Regions from separate parts of the Homo sapiens genome. Here region 2 is linked to region 1. Evidence: promoter capture Hi-C in 16 types of primary human blood cells and fetal thymus (Javierre and others, 2016). All regions are on one chromosome and are shown on one strand. Each heading gives the region's core, a stretch centred on a gene start or on the middle of the fragment in contact. The rest is flanking DNA. Distances are from core to core; before and after follow the strand shown. Region 1 holds the start of RFWD3 (ring finger and WD repeat domain 3). Region 2 holds the start of ZNF821 (zinc finger protein 821).

What was found. The method cuts DNA at HindIII sites, captures the fragments that hold promoters and counts their contacts. A CHiCAGO score of 5 or more calls a contact.
Region 2: the fragment with the promoter of ZNF821 here is called in contact with the fragment with the promoter of RFWD3 in region 1 in 1 of 17 cell types (neutrophils); the score reaches 5.4 in neutrophils.

The regions. Positions count from the first base shown.
Region 1 is chr16:74,663,020-74,670,252 of GRCh38, forward strand. It overlaps RFWD3 (ring finger and WD repeat domain 3), which reads right to left and starts at 3,858. Exons shown (of 13, transcript NM_018124.4): 1 at 3,767-3,858. It also overlaps the pseudogene TMPOP2. RefSeq lists a silencer at 3,388-3,537. The HindIII fragment of the contact is 4,771 bases long and covers 1,896-6,666 here.
Region 2 is chr16:71,881,535-71,888,033 of GRCh38, forward strand. It overlaps ZNF821 (zinc finger protein 821), which reads right to left and starts at 2,648. Exons shown (of 8, transcript NM_001201552.2): 1 at 2,374-2,648; 2 at 1,677-1,739. RefSeq lists enhancers at 1,474-1,673, 3,514-4,014 and silencers at 2,034-2,153, 2,174-2,933. The HindIII fragment of the contact is 5,845 bases long and covers 1,977-6,499 here.

The DNA of each region.
Region 1 (7,233 bases), core at 2,608-5,107:
TCAGCCTCCCGAGTAGCTGGGATTACAGGTGCCTGCCACCACGCCTGGCTAATTTTTTGTATTTTTAGTACAGCCGGGGTTTCACTGTGTTAGCCAGGATGGTCTCGATCCCCTGACCTGGTGATCTGCCAGCCTCAGCCTCCCAAAGTGCTCGGATTATAGGCATGAGCCACCGCGCCCGGCCAATACTCATGTTTCTTAAAATCATCAAAGCAGATTAAACCACCTGAGGAACAGAATGACAGAAGAGGGCTGAAGACTAAAGTCAGAGACACTACTGTTAAAAGTACAACAGAGTAAAAGAAGCCAGTTAAGGAAGATTATAAAGTAGGAGGAAACATGGGAATGTGGTGTCTTGGAAAAACAATGTTTCAAGGAAGGAACAATTGAGTGTCAAGTGCTACTGGGGGGAAGAACGGCCGCTAGATTTGGCAACATGAGGATGACAGGTGACCTAAAAAAGCAGTTTCCCTGAAGTGGTGGGGTCAGAGGCCAGACTGGTGCAGGCTGAATAAATGGAAGGAATTCTAATAAACATAGTGGACGAAGTACATATATGTATCTTTCTCTCTCCACTCCAGTCATTCCTAAAACCCACGAACATGACCCCCACAACCTGAGACATTTTTTTAAGAAAGGATAAATTAACCAGGACGACACAAATGCAAACAGGGTATGATATGCAAACCAGTTTTTTAAGGCCATAAAGGAGAAACTGATGATTGATGACTGCTTAGCAGAGCCAAAAGATAAAACTCAAAGCCTGCAAAGGGCACAGTGGTTGGGGTGAGGTGTGTTATTGAGAAGCAAGCTGATTCCCACTAAAGGGACTGTAAAAACCAGGTACCACAAAAGGCAATATTGAAAGATGGCGCTAAAAGAGAAGGGCTGGTTAAAAGCCAGTAAAGCAGTTAGCTTGACTCCTACTCAAACACCAGCCAGCTAAAACAAAACACAGAACAAAGCCCTTCTCCCCCTATGCACGAGAAAACTGGAGGTTTGAACCACACAGGCTTACACTCAGGATGGAGAGTGGCACAGTACTGAAAATAAGTGGGAAAGAAAGTCTGCAAACTGAACAATGTGAGATACTTCAAGTTTTAAACATTTTTTGTATAGATGGGGTTTCCCACGTTGCCTAGGCTGGTCTTCAACTCCTCGGCTCAAGCAACCCTTCTGCCTCAGCCTCCCAAAGTGCTGGGATTACAGGAGTGAGCTACTGCAGCTGCCTAACTAAAAGCTTTTAATGTTTCTAGGGTACAACGACAGTCTCCCAAGAATTGTGTGTCAGAACATAAGGCCCAAGCTACTTCTAGATGTACTCAAGAGACATTAAGCAACTCAGCCTTCAGGAAGACAAAGGGGAGAAATGGACTAAAAAGAGCAGAATCTAGGGGGCCGCACTGTCTACTCCCATATGGTTATTTAAATTAAATAAAAATCAAATTCGGCCAGGAGCTGTGGCCCACGCCTATAATCCCAGCACTTTGGGAGACTGAGGCAGGTAGCTGGAGACCAGGAGTTGGAGACCAGCCTGGGCAACACGGCAAAACCCCGTCTCTACAAAAAATACAAAAAAATTAGCCAGCCGTGATGGTGTGCACCTGTGGTCCTAGCTACTTGGGAGGCTGAGGCAGGAGAACCCCTTGAACCCGGAGAGTGGAGGTTACATTGAGCCGAGATCACGCCACTGCACTCCAGACCGGGAGAGAGAGTAAGACTCCGTCTAAAAAAAGAAAAAAGAAAGAAATAAAATAAGTTCCTTTGTCGTGCAGGTCACATTTCAACTGCTAGAAACACACATAGGGCGGGTGACTCCCATACTGGACAGCAGAAATACAGAACACTTTTCTCGTCGCACAAAGTTCTATGGAACGGTGCAGTTCTGGAGCTGAAGCTTCCTAACCACTGTAGGCCAGTCGGAGGTGCCTAGAACGAGAGACCATGGGCTGGGCACCCCAAACCTTGAGGATGTCACACAAACGCTGTTTTTTATGTGTGCTGTGAGCGGTGCTTAAAATGTCAACCTCAGACTTGTCATCTTTGTTACTCAGGTTTCAATCAATGGCCACAACAGGCAGGACGAAAGCCCCTCAATTAAAGGTTGAGAAGAGGTGGGCGGGGGAAGTGTTCAAATCTTTGCTCTGGCCGGTGCAGAGGGTCACGCCTGTGATCCCTGGACACTGAAATGCCCAGGCGGATGGATCACTTACGCTCTGGTGTTCCAGACCAGCTTGGGCAACACAGTGAAATTCCCATCTCTACCAAAAAAGAAAAATAGAACAGGTCAGGCGCGGTGGCTCACACCTGTAATCCCAGCACTTTGGGAAGCCGAGGGCAGACCACTTGAGGTCGGAGTCCCAGAATGGCCAATATGGTGAAACCCCGTCTCCACTAAAAATACAAAAACTACCCGGGTGTGGTGGCGCATGCCTGTAATCCCAGCTACTTGGGAGGCTGAGGCAGGAGAATCGCTTGAACCCGGGAGGCAGAGGTTGCAGTGAGCCGAGATCGCACCACTGCACTCCAGCAGGGGCAACAAAGCGAGACTCTATCTCAAAAAAAGAAAGAAAAAAGAAAAATAAAACAATGAGCCGGGCGTGGTGGCGCGCACCTGTGGTCCCAGCTATTGCGGGAAGCCGAGGTGGGAGGATCCCTGGGGCCCGGGAGTTCGAGACTGCAGTGAGCTCTTCCAGCCTGGGTGCAACAGGGAGACTTTTCTTTCTTTCTTTCTTTCTTTTTTTGAGATGGAGTTTCACTCTTGTTGCCCAGGCTGGAGTGCAATGGCGTGATCTCAGCTCACTGCAACCTCGGCCTCCCGGGTTCAAGCGATTCTCCTGCCTCAGCCTCCCGAGTAGCTGGGAAATGGGGTTTCTCCATGTTGGTCAGGCTGGTCTCGAACTCCTGGCCTCAGGTGATCCGACTGCCTCGGCCTCCCAAAGTGCTGGGATTACAGGCCTGAGCCACCGCTTTTCTCTTTATAACACCTTTTTCTCTTTATAACAGGAAAAAGGGAGGAAGAGAGAGGGAGAGGGAGAGGCGGAGGGGGAAGAGGAGGGAGAGGGAGACGGGAGGGGAAGGGAGAGAGGGAAAGAAGGAAATTAAATCCCTGTTCTTTTACTACATGGGGAAAGAAAGACATAGATAGATTAGATAGACAGATTAGATAGATAGATAGATAGATAGATAGATAGATAGATAGATTGATTAGATACATAGATATTAAATCCCTGTTCTTTTACTACATGGGGAAACTTTGGGCGGGTTTCCTAAACTCGGCTCAACTTGTTCTCCTGTAAAACAGGGATAATACAAGTCTTTACTCCACAGTTTCCGTGATGAAATTAAAAATGAAGTTCTTCCATCAACTTTAAAGTGATGAAGTAATCGGCGCTCAGAGCGGGCGCAGGCAACGCCGCTGAGGAGCCCGAGGCTAGGCTCTCGGGGGAAGGGCCGGGCGACCTCCCACCCCGGCCAGGGCAGGCCCCGCAGCAGCGAACTCGGCTCCTTCAGTGATCGCCCCGAGCTCTCGCCTGCCCAGCCCCCACGCCCAGCAACCCAGATACGCGCGGGGGTTCGGGCTCCTTAGCCCCGACCACTGGCGCCGCCCCGAGGGCCCGAATCCCCTCAGGCCGCCGGGTTCCAAGCCCGCGTGCAGCCCACCTCGTGGGGTGTCTCCTGAATCCCAATCCAGGAATCAGGCGTGGGGAGGTTTATCCCGAAGCTAGAGGCCCAAGGCCTGAGGAGAAGCAACACCCCTCCTCACCTGAAACCAGCAGGCCGCGGCCGGGCTCGCGAGCCCGCCGAAGACTCGGTAGTTACCTCGGCCGCACTCCGAATGCACCTACGCCAACTGCCACTTCCGGAGCCGCTCAAGCTCCCGCCAGAGCCGCCGGCAGGCATGCTCCTATTGGACAGAAGCCCTACGCTGTGGCCAATACCCACTCTTCTTCTTCAATGGGTCCCCCGATAGCTGAAGCAGCGGTGCTCTCATTGGCTGGTAGTTCGTCCTGACGAGGCGGGACCGCGCTTGAGGAAGCCTCCTACAATTGGCAGGAATCTACGTCCGTCACCTTGCACCCGCCCCGGAAAAAATGGGAGGTTTTTTTGTTTTTTTTTTGTTTGGTTTTTTTTTTTTTTTTTAGCGCGTTTTATTTGAACTTTCTGGCGGGAGAAAGTTATATGATTTCTCGGTCCATTTTGGAATGGGGATGATGATATTAAAACTGACTCCTGCTGCTTATCCCTAACGCTTTAGTGAAGGAGTTATCTGTATCCAAAGGATAGCAGCTAATCGAATAATTTCAAAATATTTCAATATTTTGAATTTCGGAGCCTGTAAAGAGGCGTAGGACAGTCCAGTTCATATGTATCCTCTCATGGGGTTGAAGAGCTCACGCAAAATACTTTGCCTACATAATCTCTTCAATCTCAAACCGCTGCAAGGGATCTGAGCTACTGAACAGTCTCAAATCACTTGTTAGGGCCGCCGCTCGCCGCCAGCGCCAAAAGAAAGGGGCCCCCGGAATTCTCCAGCTACGTACGAGGAGCGCGAGCCCACAGCCGTCTCGGCTCCGAGCCCGCCGCCGGCAGGAAAGCCACAAAGAAAACTGATAAACCCAGACAAGATGATAAAGACGATCTAGATGTAACAGAACTCACTAATGAAGATCCTTTGGATCAGCTTGTGAAATACGGAGTGAATTGTGGTCCTATTGTGGGAACAACCAGGAAGCTGTATGAGAAATAGCTTTTGAAACTGAGGGAGCAAGGAACAGAATCAAGATCGTCTCCTTCAGCAACAATTTCTTCTTCAGCAGAAAATACAAGGCAGAATGGAAGTAATGATTCTGACAGATATGGTGAAAATGAAGAAGACTCTAAATTGGGCTCAAGTTTGAGAAGAGAGAACCGCTAAACAGGGGAGTAAAGACTCCAGTAACCCTCAAGCAAAGAAGAGTTGAGCACAAGGAGAGCTATTCTCAAGCTGGAATAACTGGGACTGAATGGACAAGTGGATCTTCAAAAGGCGGACCTCTGCAGGCATTATTAACTAGGGAATCTACAAGAGGGTCAAGAAGAACTCCAAGCAAAAGGGTGCACGCTTCAGAATATTTTCGTATAGATGGAGCAGTAATTTCAGCGAGTACTCCCATAGCTGAAACTATAATTGCTTCAAACAACGAATCCTTAATTGTCAATAGGGTGACTGGAAATTTCAAGCATGCATTTCCTATTCTGCCAGTCACTGAATTCTCAGACATACCCAGAAGAACACCAAAGAAACCATTGACAAGAGCTGAAGTGGGAGAAAAAAAACACAGGAAAGAAGAGTAGAAAGGGATATTCTTAAGGAAATGTTCCCCTATGAAGCAACTACACCAACAAGAATTAGTGCTAGTTGCCGCAGAACAATCAAAGGAGCTGCAGGCCGGCCATTAGAACTCAGTGATTTGAGGATGGAGGAGTCGTTTTCATCTACATATGTTCCTAAGTATGTTCCCTTGGCAGACGTCAAGTGAGAAAATACAAAAAAAAGGGACGCTCCATTCCTGTATGGATAAAAATTTTGCTGTTTGTTGTTGTGGCAGTTTTTTTGTGTGTGTTTGGTCTATCAAGCTATGGAAACCAACCATGTAAATCCCTTCTCTAATATTCTTCCTGATGACTCTAGAAAACCCAACTGAATGGTATCTCTTTGGCACATTCAACTTGGTCTTGTATTTTTAGTAACTGTGTTGAAGAACATTCGTGTACGCTTTTTGACTCCAAGAACTAAAAATAATGTGATTTTGCCTCAATAAACGTAGTATTCCATTGGAAAGCAAACAAAAGATATATGAATGGACTTTATTAAAATGTTTTTGAACTTTGGACTAGTAGGAGATCACTTTGTGCCATATGAATAATCTTTTTTAGCTCTAGAACTTTTTTTTTTTTAGACAGGGTCTCGCTCTGTTGCCCAGGCTGGAGTGCAATGGCATGATTTCGGCTCACTGCAACCTCCACCTCCTGGGTTCAAGTGATTCTCCTGCCTCAGCCTCCTGAGTAGCTGGGATCACAGGCACGTGCCACTACGCCCACCTAATTTTTGTATTTTTAGTAGCGGTGGGGTTTCACTATGTTGGCCAGGCTGGTCCTGAACTCCTGACCTCAGGTGATCCACCCGCCTTGGCCTCCCAAAGTGCTGGGATTATAGGCGTGAGCCACCGCGCCCGGCCATAATGTTCATGATCTTGATAGAGTTTGGATTACTCATATGTATGCATTTGTCAAAACTCATCAAATGCTATCTTTAAGATTTGTGCATTTCACACAAATTTTTCACAGCAAAAACTTACCTTCCCACCCCCCCGCCAAAAAAAAGCTCATAGAGAGATAAACTCCAGTTAATGGCATAAATGCTGAAGTGTTTAGGAATGAAGTGCATAAAAAATCAGGATGAATTAATGGCTAGAAAGAGGCACAAGCAGATAAATAGGTATGTGATAAAACAAATATAATAAATTGTTAGTTGTAGAATTTAGGTGGTAGGTATATGGTTGTTCAGAGTACAATTGTACTGACTTTTCTGTGTATCTGGAAATTTTCATACATAAGTGTTGGGAAAAATCAGGTACAGGGCCTTGGAAGGCATCCTGTGCAAGTAAAAGGCCCTGAAGATTAAGCTTTATCAGGCTTATAGTAAATTCACCTATAATAATTGTGGGTCTGCCAGAGTATGAATAATTCATCTACCAGGGAGAATTTTCACTGTAACTCCTACAGTAAATAGAACAAATGATTTTAAAGATGAAAACAGTGGCTGGGCATGGTGGCTCATGCCTGTAATCCCAGCACTTTGGGAGGACAAGGTGGGCGGATCCCTTGAGGTCAGGAGTTCCAGACCAGCAGACCCTGCCTCTGAAAAAAAAGAAAAAAGAAAAAAGGAAGGAAGGAAAATAGTAAAATAGTAATACCTGCCAGTAAGTTCTACAAAATAATCATATTAAGTTTATATTCTTCTGCATTTTTTATTTATAGAAAAAAACCATGTTCTAGGTTTTAAAAAAATCAAGGATAAGTAAAAGATAAAAACATAAGGCCGAGTGTGGTGGCTTATGCCTGTAATCCCAGCACTTTGGGAGGCCAAGGTGGGAGTATCACTTGCGCCCAGAAGTTCAAGACTAGCCTAGGCAACACAGTGAAACCCTGTCTCATAATAATAATAATAATAGTAATAGAAATCAGCCA
Region 2 (6,499 bases), core at 1,398-3,897, 2.8 Mb before region 1:
TCTCTAAGTTTTGTGTATGTCATTTTTTTCTAATCAAGTAGTTGTTTTATTCACGGAAGCAGTGAATGAATATCACACTTTGGATTTCCTATATGTGTGTGGAATCACCAAGTGGAAAGGTAATGAAATGCAGGCTCTATTAATATTTTTAAAAATATGGCCAGGCACCGTGGCTCACGCCTGTAATCCCAACACTTTGGGAGGCCAAGGCAGGCAGATCACTTGAGGCCAGGAGTTTGAGACCAGCCTGGCCAATATGGGGAAACCTCTAATAAAAATACAAAAATTAGCTGGGCATGGTGGTGCACACCTGTAAATTCCAGCTACTCGGGAAGCTGAGGCATGAGAATCGCTTGAACCTGGGGAGGGGAGGTTGCAGTGAGCTGGGATGGAGGCACTACACTGCAGCTTGGGCAACAGAGTGAGACTCCATCTCAAAAAAAGATAAAAAACTGCCATGGGCGGTGGCTCTCGCCTGTAATCCCAGCACTTTGGGAGGCTGAGGCGGGTGGATCACCTGAGGTCGGGAGTTTGAGAACAGCCTGGCCAACATGGTGAAACCCCGTCTGTACTAAAAATACAAAAACTAGCTGGGCGTGGTGATGCATGTCTGTAATCTCAGCTACTCAGGAGGTTGAGGCAGGGAATTGCTTGAACCCGGGAGGCGGAGGTTGCAGTGAGCCAAGAACGCACCACTGCACTCCAGCCTGGGCGACAGAACGAGACTCCGTCTCAAAAAAAAAAAAAAAAGATAAATAAAAATTTAAAAAAATAAAATATACTCCTCTAATGTGATAATCTATTGAGGCTAAATATATATATACTCTATTATAGAAGAAAAAACAGAATCTTGACTAATTTTTATATTTTCTCCCTTCAAGATCAGAAACTGAAACTGTAAGATAAAGGTAATAAAGTCCCTTCTGAAGGAAGGCCAAATAATTTGAACCAGACAACATTTCAATATTAAAGCTCCAAGTCAAAAGACAGAGATGAGTGTCTGCGTATTTAAATCAGCAATGCCCGCTGCATCTTATAATCCTCCTAGTGGCCAAATGGGGAACTGACCAGATGGTACCCAATGGGACTTCACACCTGAGTGATCAAGAGAAAAATAAGCAATTACAGTCCCCTCCCACACAACGAAACGAAAATAATAACAAAAACACCCACAAAAACAGGCCTGTGGGGTCATGGGCTGTTGAAAATCAATAAGTAAATAAATAAATGGCGCTGAAAGGACACTCTTGACCACAAAGCAAGATCTCAGAGGCCAGATGACTTGTTTTATAGGCAGTTAAAGCTAATAAAACCCAGAGACATACAGCCCTAAAGGTCACTCATTTTGTTTTACTTTTAACACTGCCTCAATTTCCAAGCCAAAACCTGAAACCAAACCAAACCAAAAATGTAAATAGATAGCTGCCTGAACATGGGCTGGGAAGACAGGTAAACGGTGAGATTCAGGTCTAAAGGGATTCCATTTTAAAAGGAAAGCAGTTCTGTCTGTCTTCAGAGCAAGGTTAAGAGTCCTCGGGAAGGTGCAACGTCTCCCCTGAACACTGTCTCTGCTCTCCCACAGGTATTAGGTTGCAGCGTCTAGGGCACACCACAGACTTTGGCAAGAAAAAAAACGAGTGAAATCTCAGCTTGATGAAAAGAGAGTGCGTTCCCACCTCCAGCTCTGGTGCAGTTCCCACGGAGCAAAGCAAACTCGACTGAATCCAAGTGATCTGTATCTGCCAAAAAGGAGAGGACAAGAAAGCTGGTCACTTAGCCGCCTGGCTGTTCACCTGACCCCTGGGGTTGGGTCTGGGGCGTGTCTAATCAGCCGAGATGGTCCCTCTGCTTCTTCAAGCATGAGCCCAGGTAAATTCCCAGGAATTACCAGACAAGAGCCTGACAAGAGCCGGAGGTCTTCCGAGGCGGCTCAGACAAACCCTTAGACAACACAATCTCCGAAATCTAAATTTAGAAGCTTTTCTGCGAGACCCAGACGCGGGGACTGATACCCCCCGGTCTGCACGCCCACGCCCATCCTCCCCTCCCCCAGCTCCACCCAAGGCTGTCAGACGCCGGGGCCGTCCCCGCCGGGGCCCGAGGAGGCGGGGTGCCCGCGGCCCGCGCAAAAGCCCCCCGGCCCCGCACCCCGCGCCCCGCGCCCGAGAGCGCCAAGGGGCAGCAGGAGGAGCGGCCGGGGAGGAATTGGGGTTGGAAGCGGGGAGGGTGAGCCCGGGCTGCCCCCCTAGGCCGGAGCTGGCCCCCGGCCCTCTCCCCAGTGCAGACAAAAGGACCAACAGCCGGCGGCCGCGAGGGGGCGAGGAGCCCGCATCCCCAGCCCGGACCCGGAGGGAGGGCAGGGGGTCTTTTTACCCGGCGCCTCGGCGCTGCGCTGCGCTCTGGGTCCCTGGGCCCCGCCTCCGGACAGACGGACCGCCGGACAATGGACCCGGGACCGCAGCCCAAGCCAGCCGGGCCGGGGCGCTCCGGGACTGGGCCCCGGCGAGCGGAAGGGGCTCCGGGCCGAGCCGAGCCGGTGGCGGGGAGCCGAGGGGCGGCGCTGCAGACGGACAAAGCCAACAGCAGACAGACAGACGGAGGGGGAAAAAGATGGCGACGCGGGCGGCGGGAGCGCGCGGCTCGCGCACCCGCAGCTAGTGAGGCGCGTGCACGAGCCTCCCTCTCCCCCTCCCCCGCGCCGGCCAGGTCCCCTTCCCCGCGGCCCGGCGCGCGCCTGGCGTTGTGGGCGGGGCCTGAGGAGAGGGGCTCTGGAGAGGAGGGGCTCCGGGGAGCGCCCAATCCCGGGCGCCCGAGAGGGGCTCGCCCGCGTTCCAGGGCTCCGGAACCCCCCGCCTCGCCCATTCCCGGGTCTTTCTCTGGCTGTCTCAGCCGCTCAGCTCCCCCAGACCTTCCTGGACGTGTAAACGCCACCCTACCCAGCCCCGATCCTGGTTTCTTACCCCACCATCGAGTTCAGCCACAAAACCCACAACCCCCAACCACAGCTCCGCCGCAGGCACCCCCTCTCCTTAGCCCGGATCCCCACCACCGTCACAAACCCTCTTCGCCTCATTCCCCCACGCTTCGCGGTGGCTTCGGCTCCCGAGGCTTTGAATGTGACCACGGGCCTTGGTGGGAGGGGCCAAGTTCAGCTGTCAGAACCTCAGAGCTGGGAAATCTTGAGATTTCTTTTGAGTATTTAATTTTCTGACATGATTCTCAACTGATAAAATAACATTGGCTGCAGACCCAGGGGCAGGGGAACTTGTGGCACTGTTGTCACTTGAGGGATGTTTGGGGGCAATGGAGAGCCGTTGGACCTTTTTTTTTTTTTTTTTTTTGAGACAGAGTCTCGCTCTGTCACCCAGGCTGCAATGCAATGGCGCGATCTTCGCTCACTGCAACCTGCGCCTCCCAGGTTCAAGCGATTCTCGTGCTTCAGCCTCCCGAGTAGCTGGGACTACAGGCGTGCACCACCACGCCCAGCTAATTTTTGTATTTTTAGTAGACGGGGTTTCACCATGTTGGCCAGGCTGGTCCCGAACTCCTGACCTCAGGTGATCCTCCCGCCTCGGCCTCTCAAAGTGCTGGGATTACAGGCGTAAGCCACTGTGCCCGGCCTGGTTGGACGCACTTCTAGTCAAACACCTCCTCCTGTCCACGTCCTTCTCTCTCCTAGTTCCTGTTGCCTTCTTTTCTTCCTCTCTTCTAGAATGCCTGAGCCTGCCCTGGCATCGCTTACCTGGAGAAGCAGGGAATGCAGAGGAAAGAAGATGAGATCTGGTATTAGAAGATCTGGCTTTGAGCCCCAGCTCTGCCACCCACCAGCCTGTTGACTTTGGGCAAGTCACTTCCCTGTTCTGAGCCTCTGCTTCCTAAGATGTCAAATGGATAATGATGCAATAATTCCTGGCCTTTACTCTCCGAGGGTTGTTGTGCCAGTTAAGTAAAACAAATGGCTAAAAGCATCATGCAAATGTTTTTCGTGATTACTGGCTGCACAAAGGCAGGGCTAACGAGGATGCTGTCATTTGCTGATAAAGTGACAAGTCCTGGTATTTGCATAGAACATTCTTGCAAATTGTCTTTCCCCTAAATCTTTTATGAGATGATCTCATTGTCTGCATCTTGTGTTCAATGTAATAGAATGATTACATTGAGGGATCTTGGTCCTTCACAATTCTGTGATAAATAGCTCATTCATCATTCACTCATTTATTTATTGTGATTAGGATACTTAGATAGCAATTATTGTTGTTTAACTTCAGTCAAGGAAACATTTTAATTTCATTTAAAAACTTAGTTTCCAAGTAGACAGAAAATGGAATATTATCATCCAACCCGCAAGTGTTTGTACTATTTTGTGTAAGAATACAACCTAGAATACACACTGGCTTTTATATTTAACAGTAATTCTTGATCAGTTTGGACTGAGGGATACAAGTATGGCTTTATTATGTCACTTTAAAGCTGACTTAGTTGACATTTTCAACAGAAAAGTAGCAAACAGGTAAAGTTTGCCTCCAGTGAAATTTCTTGGATGCATTATTATTATGTAATGTTGGGCAGCTTATTCCATCTCCTTGACTTCCAAATAAAATGAGATGATAATAATGCTATTCTTATGACTTCCCTGTGCTCTAAAAATTTCTCAGAGGTGTTGTGATTCAAGGTTACAACCAAATAATGAAAAAATTATTAAATACGTAATTAGTTTAAGTTAGGCATGGTGGCTGGCACCTATAGTCCCAGCTACTCAGGAGGCTGAGATGGTATGATGACTTGAGCCCAAGTGTTTGAGGCCAGCTTGGGCCACATAGTGAAACCCTTGTCTCTTTAAAAAAGAAGAATTAATTTATTTTTCCTCTGCTTTCACCTAAACTTGTTCTACATCTAGAAGACCTTTTAATTAACCATATATATTTTTTTAGCTTCACTTTTTTCTACTTTCCCAATCTACTCACAGTTATGTCATCATTTTGCCACTTCAACTATTTAACTTTCCACTTGAAATATCTTCCTAATCCATTTTATATTTGTTGGCTTCTACAATGACCTTGTTAGGGCTCTATATTCCAACAATAAAGGTAGGAGGATTTTAAGAACCTCATGTTACATTTTTTTAAATTAAGGTATAATTCACATACCATGAAACTCATGCTTTTAAAGTGTACAATTCAGTGGGTTTTGGTACATTCACAGGGTTGACAACATCACTAGTATCTAATTCCGGAATATTTTCATCACCCCAAAAAGAAATCCCATACCCAGTAGCAGTAACTCACCATTCTCCCTTCCTCCAGCTCCTGGCACCCACAAATCTACTTTCTGTCTGTGTGGATTTGCCTATTCTGGACATTTCATATAAATGTGATTGATTATACAGTATGGGACCTCTCGTGTCTGGCTTTTGTCACTTAATCTGGCTTTTGTCACTTAATAGGTTTTCAAGGTTCATTCATGTTGTAGCATATATCAGTACTTAATTCCTTTTTATGGCTGAATTATATTCTGTTGTATGGATATGCCACATTTTATTTATCCATTCATTAGTGGAACGATATTTGGCTTGGGCCTACTTTTTGGCTACTATGCATAATGCTACTATGAACATTTGTGTACAGTTTTTGTGTAAACATATGTCTTTACATTATGTATGGACATGGGTGCATACATATATCTAAGAGTGGAATTGCTTGGTCAAATGGTAACTCTATATTCAACCTTTTTTTTTTTTTTTTTTGAGACCGAGTCTTGCTCTGTCGCCCAGGCTGGAGTGCAGTGGCGCGATCTCGGCTCATTGCAAGCTCCACCTCCTGAGTTCACGCCATTCTCCTGCCTCAGCCTCCCAAGCAGCTGGGACTACAGGTGCCCGCCACCACGCCCGGCTAATTTTTTTTGTATTTTTAGTAGAGACGAGGTTTCACCGTGTTAGCCAGGATGGTCTTGATCTCCTGACCTCGTGATCCGCCCGCCTCGGCCTCCCAAAGTGCTGGGATTACAGGCGTGAGCCATCGCGCGCAGCCCTCTGTGTTCAACTTTTTGAGGAAGTGCTAAACTGTTTTCCTAAGTGGCTGCACCATTTTATATTCCTATCAGCAACATATGGTGTTTCCAATTTCTGCACAACCTGGTCAACATTTGTTATTGTTTGTCTTTGACATTAATGGCCACCCTAGTGGATATAAAGTCATATCTCATTGTGATTTTAATTTGCATTTCTCTAATGACTAAGGATGTTGAATATTTTTTCATGTGCTTATTATTGACCATTTGGAGAATGTCTATTCAAATCCTTTGCCTATTTTTAAATTGAGTTGTCTTTTTTTTTTTTTTTTTGGAATCAGGGTCTCACTCTGTTGCCCAGGCTGGAGTGCAGCACAGTGGTATGATCACAGCTCACTGCAGCATTGACCTCCCTGAGCTCAGGTGATCATCCCACCTCAGCCTCCCGAGTAGCTGGGACTACTGGCATGCCCTTACAGGCACACGCCACCAC